Regions from separate parts of the Homo sapiens genome. Here regions 1 and 2 are each linked to region 3. Evidence: promoter capture Hi-C in human tissues and cell types (Jung and others, 2019). All regions are on one chromosome and are shown on one strand. Each heading gives the region's core, a stretch centred on a gene start or on the middle of the fragment in contact. The rest is flanking DNA. Distances are from core to core; before and after follow the strand shown.

Evidence for each region. Contacts are between HindIII fragments. The study calls those that stand out against the background at their distance.
Region 1: a fragment that was not itself captured here is called in contact with the fragment with the promoter of HADHA in region 3 in 2 of the 25 tissues and cell types used here (adrenal gland and spleen).
Region 2: a fragment that was not itself captured here is called in contact with the fragment with the promoter of HADHA in region 3 in 1 of the 25 tissues and cell types used here (spleen).

What each region holds. Positions count from the first base shown.
Region 1 is chr2:26,018,452-26,023,114 of GRCh38, forward strand. No RefSeq gene overlaps it. Among named protein-coding and RNA genes, the nearest start is that of RAB10, 13 kb to the right of the region's middle. The HindIII fragment of the contact is 6,969 bases long and covers 1-4,663 here.
Region 2 is chr2:26,406,898-26,411,427 of GRCh38, forward strand. The region is part of intron 1 of DRC1 (dynein regulatory complex subunit 1); the gene reads left to right. Among named protein-coding and RNA genes, the nearest start is that of DRC1, 7.2 kb to the left of the region's middle. The HindIII fragment of the contact is 4,264 bases long and covers 200-4,463 here.
Region 3 is chr2:26,241,542-26,246,344 of GRCh38, forward strand. HADHA (hydroxyacyl-CoA dehydrogenase trifunctional multienzyme complex subunit alpha) reads right to left here and starts at 3,091. Exons shown (of 20, transcript NM_000182.5): 1 at 2,989-3,091. The coding sequence starts at 3,055. HADHB (hydroxyacyl-CoA dehydrogenase trifunctional multienzyme complex subunit beta) reads left to right here and starts at 3,398. Exons shown (of 16, transcript NM_000183.3): 1 at 3,398-3,449. RefSeq lists enhancers at 907-1,447, 2,933-3,613, 3,468-3,567, 4,426-4,803. The HindIII fragment of the contact is 15,994 bases long and covers 1-4,803 here.

The sequences.
Region 1 (4,663 bases), core at 1,538-4,037, 220 kb before region 3:
TATAAGAAGCTCTGGGTGAGGGGTATTAATATCTGGCTCTACTTATGTTGATCCTTCCCATGAAGTACCTAGAAAACGGAGCAGAAATTAATTGAGAGGCTTCCAAATCCCTTCTGAATTCTCTGAAAATCACTTATCTTTTCTGCTTAGCTCTTTTTAGGCACCTTGCCAGGTATCCAGCATAGAGGTTAAGAGAGCAGGCTCTGAAGTTAGGAGGGCCTGGGATCAAAACCTAATTTCATCATTTATAGTTGTATGACTTAGATCAGACTAAAAACAACTTTTAATTATGGAAAGCTTCAAATATATATGAATGACACACATTAGTATGATGAACCTCCATATACTCATTATCCAGCTTGAATAATCATTAACCCACTGTAACTTTATTTCATCTATACTCTACTTATCCCCTTTGCTCCCACTTATTTTGAAGGAAATACCAGGCATCATCACATTCCATCTCTTTTTTTCTTTTTTTTTTGAGACGGAGTCTTGCTCTGTTGCCCAGGCTGGAGTGCAGTGGTGCAATCTCAGCTCACTGCAGCCTCCTCCTCTTGGGTTCAATGATTCTCCTGCCTCAGCCTCCTGAGTAGCTGAGATTACAGGTGCCCGCCACCATGCCTGGCTAATTTTTGTATTTTTAGTAGAGATGGCGTTTCACCATATTGGCCAGGCTGGTCTCGAACTCCTGATGTCAGGTGATCCACTCGCCTCAGCTTCCCAAAGTGCTGGGATTACAGGCATGAGCCACTGCACCCCACCTTCCATGTCTTTTCACATCTTTTTCTTTTCTTTTCTTTTTTTTTTTTTTGAGATAGAGTCTTGCTCTGCTGCCCAGGCTGGAGTGTGGTGGTGCAATCTCGGTTCACTGCAACCTCCGCCTCCCAGGCTCAAGCAATCCTCCCACCTCAGCCTCCCTACCAGCTGGGACTACAGGTGCATACCACCTTGCCCTGCTAATTTTTGTATTTTTTGTAGAGACGGGGTTTCACCATGTTGCCCAGTCTGGTCTTGAACCCTGGGCCTCAAGCAATGTGCCAGATTTGGTCTTCCAAAGTGCTGGGATTACAGGTGTGAGACACCATGCCCGGCCTCTTTTAACCTATTTAAACACTTGTTTCTTCATCTGAAAATGGGGATGATCATAGTTCCTACATCAATGTATTATTGTGAAGTCATGCCTCTAAAGGGCCAGAACAATGCAGGAACTCCATAAATGAAAACTCATGTTGTTAGATAAAATATAAAAATACCCCAGGCATGGTGGCTCACGCCTCTAATTCCAGAACTTTGGGAGGCTGAGGCAGGAGGACTGCTTGAGGCCAGGAGTTCAAGACCAGCCTGGGAAACATAGTGAGACCCCATCTCCACTTAAAAAAAAAAAAAATTAGCTGGGTGTAGTGACTCACACCTGTAATCTCAGCTACTTGGGAGGCTGAGGCAGGATGATCACTTGAGCACAGGAGTTTGAGGCCACAGTTAGTTATGATTGAGCTATTGTATTCCAGCCTGGGTGACAGAGTGAGACCCGCCTAAAAAGAAATTAGCTGGGTGTGATGGCACACACCTGTAATCCCAGCTACACGGGAGGCTGAGGCAGGAGAATCAGCTTGAACCCAGGAGGCAGAGGTTGCAGTGGGCCAAGATGGTGCCACTGCACTCCAGCCTGGACAGAGCAAGACTGAGTCTCAAAACAAGCAAACAAACAAACAAGCAAACAAACAAAAAAGGGAGCCTCTGCAACTTTCCTATCTCTTTGCCTGTGTCCCTCTTTCCTCCTGGTGACCCTCCCTTCCAGCATCTGAGGACTCTGCCCTGCCAGCACGAGGCCCACTGCTGACATCATGACAGGGTTAGGATGACTGCCCAACCTGTCTAGGCCTCAGGATGGGCTGGGAGCACAGGTCACCTGAACCTGGGGTAGAGGGGGCTAGAAAGAGGCAGTGGAGACCCAGGAAAGAGGAACCGAGGCTGCAGCAGCCTTGGAGGGCAGGCAGGAGCCAAGTTTCAGCAGAGGTGCAGCACATTCAAGTGGCAAGGTCAGCAGAAGGTGGGAAAGAGGAAGTGGACGTGCACAAATGTCAGGTAGAGCTGGAGTCATCCTGGGAATTTTACCAGAAACAAGTGTATCAGTCACGGGTTTTGGTTGCAACAGAAACTGATATTTGGCATTTAGAAGCAGAACATACATTTACTGAAAGGCTATTGGGAAGCTCTCAGAATTACTGGGAAGGCTAGAGAAACAGGCTCAGGGATCTGGGGAAAGCAACAGGCCACAGATTCAGTCTGTTAGGCCAAGCAGTGAGTCCATCACTGCCCCTGCCGGACCCCAAAGAGATTCTGTAGCCTATAGCACCATGGTGGCCAGCACTGGACTTGGGATCCCATCCAGCTCTGGGGTCCAGAGGTGGCCCAGAAACCAAGTGCTACTGCTCTCAGTCGCCCTCACTGTGCCTGCTTCTTTGTGTAGCTGTACACCTGTAATCCCAGCTACTCAGGAGGCTGAGGCAGAAGAATGACTCGAACCCGGGAGGTGGAGGTTGCAGTGAGCTGAGATTGTGCCACTGCCCTCCAGCCTGGGCGACTGGGTAAGACTCCATCTCAAAAAAAGAAAAAAAAAAAAAAGAAAGAAAGAAATAGCATCCCTATTTGGCCTTCAAGGACACAGGGCAGGTTTGCCCTGTGGACACCAGTGCCCTGAGGGAGGGCAAAAGGTAGTGGAACCCTGAATGCATAAGCTACATGGGCAAAAGTCTGGCTTCCTCTTGGGAGTATTTTTTCTTTTATTTTTATTTTCAATGTTTGTGGGTACATAGTAGGTGTATATATTTATTGGGTACATGAGGTGTTTTGATACAGACATGAAATGTGAAAGAAGCACATCATGGAAAATGGGGTATCCATCCCCCCAAGCATTTATCCTTTGAGTTACAAACAGTAAAATTATACTCCTTTAAGTTATTATTATTATTTTTTGAGACAGAATCTTGCTCTGTCACCCAGGCTGGAGTGCAGTGGCGCGATCTCAGCTCACTGCAACCTCCACCTCCCAGATTCAAGCGATTCTCCTGCCTCAGCCTCTGCAGTAGCTGAGACTACAGGCGCACACCACCATGCCCGGCTAATTTTTTGTATTTTTAGTAGAGACAGGGTTTCACCATGTTGGCCAGGATGGTCTCGATCTTCTGACCTCGTGATCCGCCCACCTTGGCCTCCCAAAGTGCTGGGATTACAGGTGTGAGCCACTGCGCCCGGCCCCTAAGTTATTTTTCTTGGAGGTATTTTGGCCAACAGAGATGGCTGCTTTTAGATATTGTCTTGACAGTGACTGACTCAATTAGCAGGTGTGTAAGGGCTTTTGATAACCTATACTTCTACTCTTTCTCTGGCTCCAGGAAAAAGGTGAGGTAGCTTGCAAATAACTGGATTTTTCCAAACAGCTAGCACCAGACAGGGAGGGGAAAGAGCTGACAGCTGAGAGTTGAGCACCAAGCTTCAGAAACTGACAATTCCATAAAGTCCATGGCCAAGTTCATATGATGAAATAAATCTGTCACATTTTTAAATTTGCATGACTATTGTTATGCTATGTGGCAGTTAGGCATAAAAGAAACAGCCAGAATCTATATTTTTTGTATTGATCCAAACCAAATATTTAGGGTTTTTCTTCTCATTTTGATATTTTTCTGCAAATGATAACTATAAAGAGTATCAATATCAATGTCATCTACCTCCATGTGCAATTTGATCTTCTCAATTTGTTTAAAAATTTAGATCTGGGATGCTGAGCACTGAGTTAATCACATTCCTCACTTTCTAGCACATTGACCACTGACTATGTGGTCTGTGCAAGGTCCTACTCATTTTATATTTTTCCCCCTTCTTTTTTTTTTTTGAGACAGAGTCTCGCTCTGTCGCCCAGGCTGGAATGCAATGGCACGATCTCGGCTCAATGCAACCTTCACCTCCCAGATTCAAGCAATTCTCCTGCCTCAGCCTCCCGAGTAGCTAGGATTACAGGCACCTGCCATCATGCCCAGCTAATTTTTGTATTTTTGTAGAGACGGGGTTTCATCATGTTGGCCAGGCTGGTCTTGAACTCCTGACATCAGGTAATCAGCCCGCCTCGGCCTCCCAAAGTGCTGGGATTACAGGCGTGAGCCACTGTACCCAGCCTATTTTTCCCCCTTCTTCCCTCTCATTGCCTTCTTCTTCCATAGGTTTCATGTGTAATATGTTTGATGTATGTTATTAAACATGTGTGAAACCTCATAAAAGAAAGTTGTTGTTTGTAATTTACCTGAATGGCATTGTATTATAAATCTTTTTTTTTTTTTAATGAGATAGAGTCTTGCTCTGTCACTCACGCTGGAGTGCAGTGGTATGATCTCGGCTTACTGCAACCTCCACCTCCCAGGTGCAAGCAATTCTGTCTCAGTCTCCCGAGTAGCTGCGATTACAGGCGCCTGCCACCACATCTGGCTAATTTTTGTATTTTTAGTAGAGACAGGGTTTCACCATGTTGGACAGGCCAGTCTCAAACTCCTGACCTCGTGATCTGCCTGCCTAGGCCTCCCAAAGTGCTGGGATTACAGGTGTGACCACCACGCCCAGCCTATAATTCATTTTCTGTTTCCTTTGTTTCAGTTCACTATGTTGC
Region 2 (4,530 bases), core at 1,082-3,581, 160 kb after region 3:
ACTTCCACCAGCTAGACTCAAGTGATCCCCCCCACCCCAGCCTCTCGAGTAGCTGGGACCACAGGTGCACACCACCATACCCCGCTAATTTTTTGTATTTTTGGTAGAGATGGGGTTTCACCATGTTGCCCAGACTGGTCTTGAACTCCAGAGCTCAAGTGATCCTGCCACCTTAGCCTCGAAAAGTGCTGGGATTATAGGTGTGAGCCACCACACCCAGCCGGGAGATGTCACTTCTGGGTAAAGATGCGAGATGGAACACATACATCTACCTTAGATCTCTATCATTTTAACTCCATTAAAATGATATTTAAGGGGATTAAGTAAAAAAGACGCAAATCCACAAAGTCAAGATCAGGAGGACTCAACAGCAATGAAATTGTGGATGCTGGGAAGCACAAGATAGATGGTAAATGGGTGAGCAGATTCAAGAAGATGGAAAAATAAGCTGATAGTGAAGAAAGCTGAGAACCCCCTTGATTTACTCTGCACTAAATCCCCAAAGACTAGGAGACTGATGGCATATCATATTCATCCGTGAGGATTTAAAAAATCCTATGGCCCTTCCAATGGAGTGACAGGACCTCTGTGGCCGAGAGACCTCAAAGTTCTTAGCCCTTAGCAGTGACAGGAGACTGGACATGTCCACTTCCTGCTACCCCCGTCCCTTTACTAATTATTATGAGGTCTTATCAAAGGCTGACCTGAAGATGACAAAAGGCCAGAAGACTCCTTGGCTTACTTCGTCCGACCACCCGGCACCCTCCTCCTCATGTTTATGGTTCCAACCTGACAACAACCCTGGACCACAGAGACCTCTTCCTGGACGACTGCCAACTTCAGGCCAGTTTGGACCGGTTCCCTGAGACTGCACAGATCCTGGACTTGTGCCCTAAGCATCACCTTTTTGCATTTATGACCCAATTGTAGTACATTTAAATGTTAAATCTCCACCCCAAAGTGAACATGAGTAGCATATTGTTGTATGTTCCGTGCACATGTAAGCCTAATGCACGTGCGTAATGAGTTTTCTCCGTAAATATTCACAACCTTCTCCTATATCCTGTAGAATATGCGTTTCCTACCTCCTCACCTAGCAGAAATATCTGCCTTATTTTCTCCCCTTCAAAGCCTGCTTCTCAGTCTCAGTTGAAAGCTTGCTTCCTGCCTGCAGGTTGTGTCCTTTAGAAATAAAGTTCTCTTTTGATTTTGTGGATTCTGACTCTTTTTCAGTTGACATCTAGAAGTGGAGGTGACAAAGGGAACCAAAATAAGGACAACCGATTGGAAAATTAATAGGTAGATGCCTAGAACCTTTCTCTCTCTTTGCACAGAAGATTGGAGGTTTGGAGAAAGTCAAGCGGAGGATCTAGGGCTTGGGGGATGCTAGACAGAGGCGAGGCAAGGATACTTCATGGAAAATAAGGGGATTCAGGGAAAATATGCACAGTGGATGCCAGGACCTTCCAGCTCTCCTCTCACCAGTTCCTGGAATGGTGGCACTTCAGCCTTCATATTCCAGGCAGGAGGCTGGAGAAGTTTCTCTGTGGAATCCGACCAGCCCCAAAAGAAGGATTTAAAGACACTAATGTTGGTCTGGGCACAGTGGCTCATGCCTGTAATCCAGCACTTTGGGAGGCCAAGAGGGGTGGATAACCTGAGGTCTGGAGTTTGAGACCAGCCTGGCCAACATGGTAAAACCCCGTCTCTACTAAAAATATGAAAATTAGCGGCGTGGTGGTGCATGCCTGTAATCCCAGCTACTTGGGAGGCTGAGGCACGAGAATTGCTTGAACCTGGGAGGCGGAGGTTGCAGTGAGCCGAGATCGTGCCACTACACTCCAGCCTGGGTGACAGAGGGAGACTCTGTCTCAAAAATAAAATAAAATAAAATAAAAATAATAAAGACACTAACATCGGGTTTGCTCACAAAGCAGCCCGATTAAATCAGCCCACGCTGACATGCACAGTTGTTAAGCCACACCCTTGTACTCACAGCTCCCGTCAGCTTTAAAAAAAATTTATTTTTATTATTTATTTATTTATTTTTTAAGCAACAGAGTCTCACTCCATTGCCCAGGCTGGAGTGCAGTGGTTTGATCATAGCTTAGTATAACCTTGAATCCTGGGCTCAAGCAGTCCTCCTGCCTCAGCCTCCTGAGTGTCTGGCACTACAGGTGCAGGCCACCATGCCCGGCTAATTTTTTTTTTTTTTTTAGAGATGGAGTCCTGCTATGTTGCCCAGGCTAGTCTTAAACTCCTGGGTCAAGTGGTCCTCCTGCCCTGGCCTCCCATAGTGCTGGGATTACAGGCATGAGCCACTGTGCTCAGCCCCATCAGCTTGTTTTTAATGTTTAAATTTTTATTTGTCACACTATTAAAATTTATTTTTTCTGCTTTATCCTGACACCATATTACAAGCTTCCAAATGGCTAGGGACTTAGATTGAAATGATACTAATTTGTCCTTATTTTCTCTAAATTCTTGGATTCTGTATAATCAGGTGTGTTTATGTACACATAACCAAAACAAACCATCCTTTATGTAGTTTTTTTTTAAAGGCAGCTGTTTCTTTAACAACAACTAGGTAGCTACTGTGAAGATGGTGACATGTAAAATTGGTAGTATTAGTATCCTTTTCCCAAGTTGTCATGGAAGTTACCATTATACTTATAGCTTTAGGTCTTTGGTACATCTCAGACAAGATAGGCAAGAATTTGGAGAACATTTTGAAAATAAGAGCAATAGACACATTCAGCAACAACTAGAATAATGGAACTCAAAGTTCTAAAATTACATGATATAAGTGAAAACAGCTTTAAAAGCTACCTCATAAGAGTTGTTTTATCATTAGCTTGATTTTTTCCACGTAAAACAGTGTTTATTTATTTTTAACCCATGTTTTAATTTTTTCATAGGCTTTTTAGTTCTTGTCATGAGTCAGTAACTGAGGATTTCTAGGCATCTGAGGAAAGTCTTTAACATGAATGGTAGATATGAAAATTAACAAAGAGAAAAAAGCACCTAAGAGGACATTAAGACTATATGTGGGGAGAAAAAAACAAGAATACCACAAAAAGATGATCATTCAGATCCTCAGAGAGAGTTTTGAAGTCTTTGGGGGAAAAAGAGGGAAAAAAAAGATCCTCAAAGAAAAAAGAGATGATATGGCAACCACGAAACAAGAATAGAATGCTACTAAAAGGAGTGTTCAGAGAAAAAAAATAGAGCTCTTAGAAATAAAAAAATTATAGAAATAGAAAACATTAGAAGGGTTGGAAAATAAAGATGATGAAATCACCTAGAAAATAGAGCGCAAAGAAAAAAGGTAGAAACTTATAGAGAAAATATTATTATTATTATTATTATTATTATTATTATTATTAATTTTGATACGGAGTTTCACTCTTGTTGCCCAGGCTGGAGTGCAATGGCATGATCTCGGCTCACTGCAACCTCTGCCTCCTGGGTTCAAGCAATTCTCCTGCCTTGGCCTCCCAAATAGCTGGGATTACAGACACCTGCCACTATGCCCGGCTAATTTTTGTATTTTTAGTAGAGACAGGGTTTCACCATGTTGGCCAGGCTGGTCTCGAACTCTTTACCTCAGGTGATCCACCCGCCTTGGCCTCCCAAAGTGCTGGGATTACAGGCATGAGCCACTGCACCCAGCCAGAGAAAAATATTTTTTTTTAATTAGAAGATATTATCACTTTTCTAGATCCAGAAAGAATGGAGCAGGGAGCATATTATCATGGAAAGAATTCAAGAACATGTCTCAGACCTGAAGATCATGAGGTTCCTGATTGAAATGTCTAGCACAATGGATGAAAATAGACCCACCCTAAGGCACACCATTGAGAAAGTTCAGAACACTGAGAATAAAGAGAAAGGGCCTACGAGCTTCCAGAGTGAAACAAAACAAAACACAACAAAACAAAACAAAACAAAAACATGGTCACATATAAAAAACAAAAATATGGTCACATACAAAGAAAGGCATAAAGACAGAATGACTTCAGGTTTCTCAGTTAGCAACACTGGAAGGAAGCAGTGAAGGAAAGTTATTTCCAACCTAGAACTCTAAACCCAGGTAGACAATCAACCAAGTTCCAATTTTTTTAAATCCTGAGAATTGGTCAGGAAGTAGAGTATTCAAGATGGCAGCTCCCATTTAGACCACAAACATGGGGCGGTGGTGAGGAAACAGCTTCCCAAAAGAGGACTCAGCCCCCAGGAGGGAGGGAGCTCAAATCTGAATAGACAGAAGTCTGAAACAGTTGCTTTGGAGAACATACTAGTTCTACACTGCTGAACAACAGAAATACAGTATCAGCCACATATGTCATTTCAAGTTTTCTAGTAGCCACATTGAAAGTGGTAAAAACAGAACAGGTGAAATTAATAATTTATTTAACCCAATATATAAAAGTATTATTTTAATATGCAATCAGTGTAAATCATACTGATGAGATATATTGCAAATATTTTTTGTTCAAAGTCTTCAAAATCCATCTAGAGTGTATTTTA
Region 3 (4,803 bases), core at 1,841-4,340:
TCTGGAGGCTGAGACAGGAGAATCACTTGAACCCGGGAGGCGGAGGTTGCAGTGAGCCAAGAGCGCACCATTGCACTCCAGGCTGGGTGACACAGTGAGACTCCGTCTCCAAAAAAAAAACCGAAAAAACAAACAAACAAAAAAACCATCTATTAAGGTATTTGCCTCTAAATTCATCTCCTGTGAAATTATTTTACTACTAATACCTATTTACTACTAAATACCTAATTAGGAATTTAGATTTAGGATAGGAGTGGGAATTAGACAACATACTCTGGTCAAGAAGTGATTTTCATTTGATATTCACATTCAGAATTATAGCACTTGTAGAGAAGGAATGCTTTAAAATTTCAAGAATTACAAGTCTCCTTCAAGATAATTTTTTTTTTTTTGAGATATGGTCTCATTCTGTCCTCCAGGTGTGATCTTGGCTCACTGCAACCTCCACCTCCTGGGTTCAAGCGATTCTCCCACCTCAGCCTCCCGAGTAGTTGGGATTACAGACGTGTGCCACCACACCTGGCCAATTCTGGTATTTTTTGGTAGAGATGGGGTTTCACCATGTGGGCCAGGCTAGACCTCAAGTGATCTGCCCGCCTTGGCCTCCCAATATACTGGGATTATAGGCATGAGCCACCGTGCCTGGCCCCTTTCAAGAGAATTTTATCATCCACCAGCAAAGGTCATAATCTCATTAAATGTTTGGCAAAGCCTTGCACAGACTTTTACTGTGAAGGATCTATTGAGTCTAAATAGTAATATAAGGGTGCAGGTCATTTTAAATTCACTTTCCAGACTTTTTTTCAAAATTTATAAATTGCTATTAAGGGATCAGTAACTACAACGAATGATACTTTCTTACTGGTGAAAACACAATGCAAAGTATATATTTATGTGTCTATATATTTCTATACAGAAAACAGAAAAATTAGGTTGGTAGCTTTTTATTACACACATAAGATGTACAAATTACTTTTAAAAACTCTCAGATATATACAATCGTATTTCTTCCAGGCTGGAGTTAATAATATTTACTGAGTGCTTACTCCATGAAAAACTGCTTGATATCTAAAATAACTCCTTTTCATCACACAAGGTGGTATTATTCCCCATTTTACAAATGAGAAAACAAACACAGAAATTAATTGCCCAAGGTCATCAGAGGGTAAAAGGCAGAGCCAGGTCCAAACCCAGAAGTCAGACTCCAAACAATGTTTTTTTTGTTTGTTTGTTTGTTTTTGAGACGGAGGACCAGGCTGGAGTGCTGTGGCGCGATCTCGGCTCACTGCAAGCTCCGCCTCCCGGGCTCACGCCATTCTCCTGCCTCAGCCTCCCGAGTAGCTGGGACTACAGGCGCCCACCAACACGTCCGGCTAATTTCTTGTATTTTTAGTAGAGACGGGGTTTCACCGTGTTAGCCAGGATGGTCTCGATCTCCCGACCTCGTGATCCGCCCGCCTGGGCCTCCCAAAGTGCTGGGATTACAGGCGTGAGCCACCGCACCCGGCCCAAACAATGTTTATTAATTGCTCTGTCATGCTACTTCTCATGCAAAGGAAATCCATCATCTCAATCATTCATTTTGCAGATGAGGAAAATAAAGCCCATTTAGTTTAAGGCATTTGTCCAAAGTAACACAGCTAGTGACTAGAACCACGTGCCCTGGCTACCACTTCCGAGTGACATCAGCTGCCGATCCATAAGAAATACCTTCAAACCAATGCAGGGGTAAGATAAAAATTACACGTTACTTTTCAAAAGTGTTGTGAAAATAGGGGAAAAAAACCACCAAACCTGTAAGGAAACATAACCGAAGGCTAACCGTAGGTAAGCATATGAGTAGTAAGACAATGGGTGATTCGTTTTTTTTTCATCTCTTTCCTCAATCCTTACAGCATTTCAATGTTCTATAATGTGCTTATGTTATAATTGGCAAATACATGCTACAGTTTTGTGGAGACTAAAAACAGCTGTTGAAAAAAGGGAGCAGAAAAATATTCAATCATTAAAAAAATCCCCTTACAGTAAGGGATTTCAGCTACTTGTCTAAAAAAAGCATACTACTTCAGCGGTTCCGGAAGAGGGAAGAGAGGTAATTCATATTACAAATTAAATTAAAAGTTAAAATTTCTAGTTAAGTAACTTATTAAGCACAACATGCAATAAAACGTTGTCCACTTTTGACTTTACAGATTTGGGATGGAAAGAAAATGCAACGTTTCCTACAACCACCCACTTTAACCCTTTCACTGCCAGTTTGAAAAGGAAAAACACTAGCTAATACAGGCTGACTGGGAATCATCAGATTACAAATCGTTCTCAGAACGATCTAACATTTTATTGCTTAAGGTAGAGGTATTAGCGTATTTTTAAAGTGTGTCTTCCAGTAAGTTGCAGAACTTCCCGCTGAAATTCAAAATACTATACGTTCACACTGACATTACTGAAACTGCAAGAGTTGAGCTCCCTACTTGATTGGGGTAGTAAGCACAAAAATGGTTTTGAGGGAACGGAGCAGGGAGGGGCAGTGATCTGCAAGGCTGATTAATCCCATACAAGACAGCGCTTGTTGCGGGGTAAGGTGCTGTTTTTAAGACAGCTCTTGTTGCGGGGCAAGGTGCTGTGGAGCCACAAAGATGCGACAGAATGGATCCCGATTCTCCTGGAACTCCGGATCAAGAAAATATGAGGGGCGTGAGCCCAGAAGTGCGACGCAAGAGACCCGCGGAAAGGTGACAGAACGAGTGGCACCAGACTCAGAAAGTTGGGGAGTTAGGAAGCCTGAAATCGCCGCAGGAGTCGTGAGAGGGGAAGTGACAGTCTCTTCAGAAGGTCACGGGAAACCGGGTCCCAGGGCAGTATCCCCACAGAGGGCTGCGTCTCCGGGCTGGGGCAGGCGGCAGCGAAAGGGAGACGCGGCTCCGGGGCCACCCCAGTCCCGGCAGGAGTTCTGCCCGGAGGTCTGGGATGCCCTCGGCCAGGCCTCACCTCGGGAGCGGAGGATCCTGAAGGCAGAAAAGCGGCTGAGGATGCCAATCGCCCGGCAGGCCACCATCTTGAGCTGAAGAGGACAGCAGTGGAGAGCGCCTCTAACGGGTGCGGCCGAGCGGAGGACTTTTCTCCCGTAGCCTGGCAGCCAGGCGCCTGGAGCACTGCCTGACTAAAACCCAGATGCCGAGTGGCCGCCGGCCCCTTAGCCCTGCCCCTCGCTCCTGGCTAACATGGCCGAAAGGTCGTATTCTCCGGGGGAGGACGGGGGCCCGGAGAGGAGGGGGTGGAGTGCCTGGTTTTCCAGTCAGGCGGCCGGAGGGCAGCCCTCAAGAACGGCCCTGACCGCCCGCGGGGTGAGGGGCCCTTTCTGGGCAGGACCCGCCCCTTGGTCCCGCAGAGCCTTGGTACTTGGACCTGAACCTTGCTCCGAGAGGGAGTCCTCGCGGACGTCAGCCAAGGTGAGACGGCGAGCCCTCAGCTCTCCGCCCGGGCTTTCCCAAAGGCGAGATTCCACTTCCTTCCCCGCAACTGTCGCCGGTGCCCCCGGCCCCCTCCCCTCCCTGGGAAAGTGGGAGTTGAGGGAGCGGAAGGAAACTCCTCGGACAAGGTCGGCAGTGCTAGCTGCAGTTAGGACAGTGACTTGGACTAGCGTTCCAGCTGAAGTTCGGGACAGTAGTGTCACCTGCGCCCTAATTTATCATCACAAGTTAACGAAGTCTGGGGGTGTGGGGGTGTGTGTGTGTGTGTGGGTGTGTGTGGGCGTGTGTGGGCGTCGGCCTTAATGTAACCCTGGTCTGCGTAGAAGTGTGTGTTGTTTCGCCTGCTTCCCCTGTACCCAGGTCGGCGGCTATAGAGATTGTGGACGGCGCCATGGGTTTGCCCGATTTCTGCTGTAAAGAATAAGACTAGGTCAGGTGACCTTTCGGGGCTTGAGTGTGGGAGGAACGGAGACAATCCTCCATCCGGCTCCGTTATCCAGATAATCCTGCGCTCTCGGGGGTTTTCCGATCTGGATGATTATCTATCTGGTCGTTCACACCTCAGCTCACTTAAGCGGTGAAGAAACTGCCTACGAATCAGAGAGAGTGATTTTACCCATGGCCATATGTAGTAGAAATAAGACTGGAGCCTAAGTCTACTAACTCCTAGTGAAGAGTTCTTCATTGCATGGTAGCTGTTTTTGTGCTGGAATGATGGGCTGGAGTCCTGGAATAAAGTGATTGATTTCAAAAGGAAGTCACATTGAGAGCCTGCTGTGCTCTGGTCACCTTCATACCTTTTTGTTTAGTCCTCACATTCCCCAAATTATTATCATTTGCATTTTCTAGATGAAGTTTGGGAAGCTCAGAATATATACATTTTCTAGTCTGTGACAGACCTAGCATTCAGACATAAGTCTGAGTCTCACTACTCGCCAGACTGACAGCTCTGCAGGACAGGAAACAAGGGGCATCGAAGTTAAGACTGAAATGAGTATAGAGACAGAGTAGAGAGGTTTCTGTTTAAAGCTCAAGTTGCATAGTGAGTGCTCATCATGTGAGCACTTTAAGCAGAAACTGGATGACCTGACCACTTCTGAATAAATTGCAAAAAGGATTCTTGATAATCTTACAAGGTTTTTACAGTTCAGAGCCTGCCTCCTGCCCATGTAATGCTTTCTTCAACACCTAACTGCGTGTAACACTTATTATTTAGGTCAGAAGTGGTAAATTTTGTTGTTGTTGTTAAAGGTCCAGACAGTAAATAGTTCAGGATTTGCAGGATCACTTTGGTCTCTGTTATATATTGTTTCTTTTGTTTTGTTTTGTTTAC